Regions from separate parts of the Homo sapiens genome. Here region 1 is linked to region 2. Evidence: promoter capture Hi-C in human tissues and cell types (Jung and others, 2019). All regions are on one chromosome and are shown on one strand. Each heading gives the region's core, a stretch centred on a gene start or on the middle of the fragment in contact. The rest is flanking DNA. Distances are from core to core; before and after follow the strand shown. Region 1 overlaps ELAVL2 (ELAV like RNA binding protein 2). Region 2 holds the start of ELAVL2 (ELAV like RNA binding protein 2).

Evidence for each region. Contacts are between HindIII fragments. The study calls those that stand out against the background at their distance.
Region 1: a contact is called between a fragment that was not itself captured here and the fragment with the promoter of ELAVL2 in region 2, in 3 of the 25 tissues and cell types used here (dorsolateral prefrontal cortex, heart left ventricle and mesendoderm cells).

What each region holds. Positions count from the first base shown.
Region 1 is chr9:23,748,431-23,751,130 of GRCh38, forward strand. All of the region lies in intron 2 of ELAVL2 (ELAV like RNA binding protein 2), which reads right to left. Among named protein-coding and RNA genes, the nearest start is that of ELAVL2, 76 kb to the right of the region's middle. The HindIII fragment of the contact is 5,669 bases long and covers 1-2,700 here.
Region 2 is chr9:23,824,804-23,827,503 of GRCh38, forward strand. ELAVL2 (ELAV like RNA binding protein 2) reads right to left here and starts at 1,437. Exons shown (of 7, transcript NM_004432.5): 1 at 1,003-1,437. It overlaps LOC105375992 (a long non-coding RNA gene), which reads left to right and starts at 1,625. Exons shown (of 3, transcript XR_929519.3): 1 at 1,625-1,714. The HindIII fragment of the contact is 12,029 bases long and covers 1-2,700 here.

The sequences.
Region 1 (2,700 bases), core at 81-2,580, 76 kb before region 2:
AAAGTATGAAGGCAGAGAAGACTTCCAGGGAGCAAAACTACTTGGGTTCTTCTTTCTGACCCACTGTACATACACCAACTGCCTCTTCCTCCAGGTAACTTGCCAAGATGGGGAGTGATAAGAGATTGAAGGCAATTTTCAAAAGAATAAAACAAGCTTGAAACCAGGCAGAACAACTGCAAAGGGGGTAAGATGAAGTCCCTGCAAGTAGTCAGCAATCTGGCAAAATATTGCACAAATTCAGTATTTTAATTGGACGTTTCTTTTACGGGGAATGTGGCATGAACTAAATTTGAAGCCAGGCTACTTATTTCAGGGGGAGGGGTTGGTCCCTAAAGCCACTTGGAGAGGAAGAGAAATAAAACATACAGAAGAGTCTACAGCCCAAGGGGAAAAAAACTAGTATCTCCTGAAAACAATTATCATAATTTACTTTCAAAATACTTTGGTATATCAAATGTTGTATGATTTCATTTATATGGGGTACCGAGAATAGGCAAATTCATAGAGACACAGAAAATATAATGGTTACCAAAGGCTGGGAGCAAAGGAGGTGGGTGAGGAGTTACTGTTTGATGGTTACAGAGTTTCTATCTGGGATGATGACAAGGTACTGGAAATGGATAAGGGTGACGGCTGCATAATACTGTGAATGTGCTTAATGTCACTGAACTGTAAACTTGAAAAGGTTCAAATGATAAATTTTATGTTATATTTTGCCACAATAAAAACATTTCTTTTTAAAGTTTAGAATTAATCTGATGACACGTGTGCACCAGCCATTTAAGCTTTAATTCTGGGTGGTCATCTAACATACTATCATTAATGCACAATCCAGGATTAGTTAACTAGTATAATACAAGTAGGCTAAAATTCAAGTGACTAGTGTAAGCCTACATACTATCCATACCTAAATCAACAACCAATTCTCTGCTGATTCACCTAATGGATGTCAAAATAGGGTTTTGTTCTGTAAGCCAGTTATTTGTTAATTAGCATAACGAGTGTTAGAAATGGAGTCTTACCGGTAAAATTAAAGGAGTTCAAGATACGCAGATGGGCTAAATTAGTTTAGAGACACTTCCCACCTTCGTATAAACAGGGCACAAAATCCAAGGTGGCATAATCCAAGGTGGTTATATCTTTATGGAGAGAACCCCTAAATGTTAAATGGTCCTGGGTTTCAGTCTTTGTTTAAAGGGATTTCTTTTTGCATGATGCAAAGTGAGGGTGCAGAACGTGACTTTTGGGATATTGTTAGCCTCCGGTGAACATTTCATTTAAAGTGTGTTCAAAGCACTTAAAAAAGAAGAGAGAAGTGGGACTTTACCAAGCTTTCAGAAAAGGCTTCTCCATCAATTTGGTCCTGCTTGCTAGATAGAGGTTTCTATGTGTGGTGGGATCTGGCCTGAGACCTTCTTTCATTATAATCTATAGAGCAACTAACGCTCACCCTTCCTCCTTTGGTGCCTACTAACAACTACGCAAAATTACCTAAGAGCTGTTATTCACTATACTAACAGGTCCATTTAATAAACCCAGTCTCAAGGAGTCACTGGTCATGAACACAGTGGCCTCCAAGGGTACTGTCTTAAAAAAGGAAAAAAAAAAAAAAGACTCTTTAAAAGTCGGTTGTCCAACTATAAAGGCTAGGAAAGAATATTAGACATCCTCCTTACTTTGATGGCTATATCCAAATATATTGTTTTCTATAAGCATTCAGAGAACTAAAATATCAAATAGAGTAAGAAACTAACCCCAGAAGATTCCATATTCTACTTTTAAGTAGCACATCAGGACTAGCTTTGTATGTTCTAGAGCTGGGGATATAATGGAATGTTATCACGCCTTTTTGCAAAGGCTCCCAATTTCCAGCACTTAAAAAAATACACATATTGATATAAAACACAGTAACAAATCGGTATTAACAATTCTGTATTTTAATCCTATTCCAATATGTATAAAAGGGCTTACCCCCATAAAAAAAGGACAACAAATAATAAAGAATATAAAGGTCTAAAAACAAACCTGGTATAACATTGTTAGATTTTAAGATATTAGATCCCAAATCATTCTACTTGAGAAGGTAGTACACTGTCTGCACCATATAATGGCAAAATCACTTGGCACCATGTTTAAAAAGAGCTAACCTAATACTCAGGTTCACAAAAGAAAAAAAAGACAATTTTAGAGGCAGGATTTGGGAAGTCATTTAGGAGAGCCCTTGTCTACATGAGAAGATGTCAATTGATTTGATACACCATCAGTCTCTCATTTATATTCAAAATGTTTAGATACATTTAAAGTAGAATAAGAGCAAACTACAATTCATTTAAATGGAATGAAAAAAGCTCCCATGGCTTACTTAGTACCAGGGTTAGGAAAAAGGATTCGTACGACAGTACCCTTGGAGGCAACTCCTTAAGACTGGATTTAAAGCATTAAAATGTGAGGAAATAAAACTGTTCTCTCAGGCTCCAGTGACCTTAAAAACAGTGCAGTGATTCTGATTTACCAGTTTACACACAGCTATGCCTCCCTTAAACTTTACTTTAAAAGGAGGATTTGACTTTCTCAGTATTAAGTCCAAAGGTCAAACAGGTTGTAAAGAGTCAAGGGCCCCATCAGATCTACTCTACAAGGTAATAAACATTCAAGTCTATCATCCCTCACCAAGAAATGCAAATTTTTGTTGAGCTA
Region 2 (2,700 bases), core at 187-2,686:
TTCTCCTGGCGTCAATTTAACAATAGCTATTCGAGGAAGTGGGGGCGGTAAGGAGGGGGTGAGGGCTACGTGGCCGAGTTGGCTCCTGGGGTGGCTGCGAAGCCTCGCGGCTGCAGAGGGGTTCCCCCTCTCCCCGAAGGCGAAGTCAGCCGCGTAGGACCAAGGACAGGGCTTGGAATCCACTTCCCAGCGCCCAGCACAGCGAGGCTCCCAAGCAGCCGGCACTTCATAGACACAGCTCCAAGGATCTTATTTACGCTTTTCTGAACAAAGGGAATCTCATATCCGGTACAGGCTTAAGAATTCAGCCCCAAATTGGCTATCTTCTTTTAAAACTGAATTATGATAATTGGAGTCCGTGAATCAGAGCCCGCATACAATGATGAGTTCTGACAGCTTCTAACAACCCTAGCCTCAGCCCAGCCCCAGCCCCAGCCCTCAGGCGGCATGTACTTTTTTCAGTCAACTACAACTCGCTGCCTGGTGCAGCATCTAAATTCCATCTGGCAATCCCATCTCCCCAGCACATGCTATCTGGTTAATGCAATTAAGCCTGTGGTTTTCGCTGGTCTAATCTGCCAGTCCAGGCTTCTGATTCCCCTTAATGATTGTAAAGCCTCTCCCGTCCTTCCGTTGCTGAGCCAAAGTAGAGGCATGCATCCCCAACACCCAAGTTATCACTCTCTCCCCACGAAATGAACTTCCGATCTCAATCTTGAAGCTCACTCCACATCTAACCTCCCATTGTACCCCTACTCCCCCCTGGCCACATTTACCACTTAAGTTTCTGCCATGGACATTTACGAATATTCAGTACGCTAAGCATGCGTCCACCGTCTTTTAGTCTAGCTCTTTAAAATTAAAAAAGCAGAACAGTAGCTTTGAAATGAGACAAACATGTGCAATTAACTTCATATTCTGTATTCCGCTCACTTACAGGTTTTCTGGGTTTGCCAGCGCATCGCTGCAACTAATGATTAAAGAAACCAAACCGAAACTTACCTTTCTCCCTTAAGGTTTTTGTGTATGTGTGTTTTTAAAGTAACGGTGCAGTTCTCCCAATAAGGATGAGCAAGAAGCTGCTGGATAGTTCTCTTAAGACAGCACGAAACCTAAACTGTGCTCGGCTTAAAAGAAGCAAATAAAAAGAAACGCTTTCGACCCCAAAGTCCAATGCTAAAAGAAATGGCGAAAAAAAATATGAAAGGGGAGGGGAAACTTAAAAAAGAGTTTAAAAAGACGGAGAGACTACCCTCCTATTGCCGTTCAACTAAACAAAAAGGGGCAAGAAAAACAAACCAAGGAACAAAGAAAAGAGACGAAAGAACGTTTTTTCAAAAAGACGATGTCTTTCTCCTTGTTGCTTTTTAGTAGGTCGCTACAGGAGTAAGCTGCTGCATCTCTAACTAAGAACAGAAATAGGGGGGAGGACGTCTTAAAAGGGAGGTGGACTGGACCACAGATTTATAGCACCGTATCACCAACCCCTTCTCTGCCTCCGCACTGCCGTGTGTGCAGCTGCTCTGCCAGGCTCCTATCCCGGGCAGCACGCGCGGAAGTATACGCCGAATCGCGCCACAACGTAACTTGCTCATCGCCCCAGGATCCTGATTGGTCCACACGCTTCCATTGAGGCCGCCCAGGCGGGGCCGCGTGAGACGATTGGCTATGGGCTTGTGTCACTCTCGAGAGCTCAATGGAGTCCCGTTTCAAGGTAAGTTGTGCGGGGAGGTACACTCTTAACACTGGCGGCGAAGGGAAATGCAAGAAGCAAAAAGAAATGTGGAGAGAGCAACGTGGGAGGGTTGGAACTGTACTATCAGAGTTTGCGATATGGCACGATCTCCTTTCCTCTTAAATCTTTCTGCTTCAGAAAGATTCATTTCCTTTGCCATCACTGCTGCATCTGTGGCATATTTCTTTATAACATTTAACTCTGTCCGGTATGTATGAGTCATTGAGAGCTCCCTCTCTTTGATCTGAGTGAAAGGGATGAATGTACATCCATTATTTGCCCGCATGCCTTTTTTCGATTTGTGTTCAGTACTGTATTTTGTATTAGATGTTAGGTAATTGTATGTCTTTATTTTAATATACGCATATTTCAGATTTATGTGTCCCCATGAACCCCTTTTTAAAGCATCCTTTTAAGATAAAGATGAAGTCAGAAATGCTCTCAAATAAAGCTGCACGGTTTGAATTGGCTTTCACTTCATGTTAGAATAGAAAAGTGTAGGATAAATATCCTATCCAGAAAAAGAGGTATTGAGTAGAGCTAAGGTCCTTCACTTCGAGGTGTCTAATGATTCTCAAAAAGAGCAGCTGTATATAAAACTGGAACAAGCCACTCCTCTGCATTTGCAGACAGGTACAGTCCTTGGACCACACATGTATTGCTGACAGCAAAGATAGTTGAACCTTTATCAGGGCTCTTTCTGTGAGGATTTAAGAAGTTTAACCAGAAGACCAAGTGCTATCAATGCTTCTGCTTCATAGAGGAAGACTACTTTATTACAACCCCATATTTTAACAGCATTCAGGAGACCAAAATACAGTTTTATGCATGATAATTGTTTCTTCCTCTAAGTGAAAGTGAGGTCCTCAGGATCGTCTGGATGTATAAGTAGACACAATATTCATTTGACCTACGTTCTTTTCCAGCCAGCATTTCTCTTTTCAATCTTGAAAGATAGCACCAAC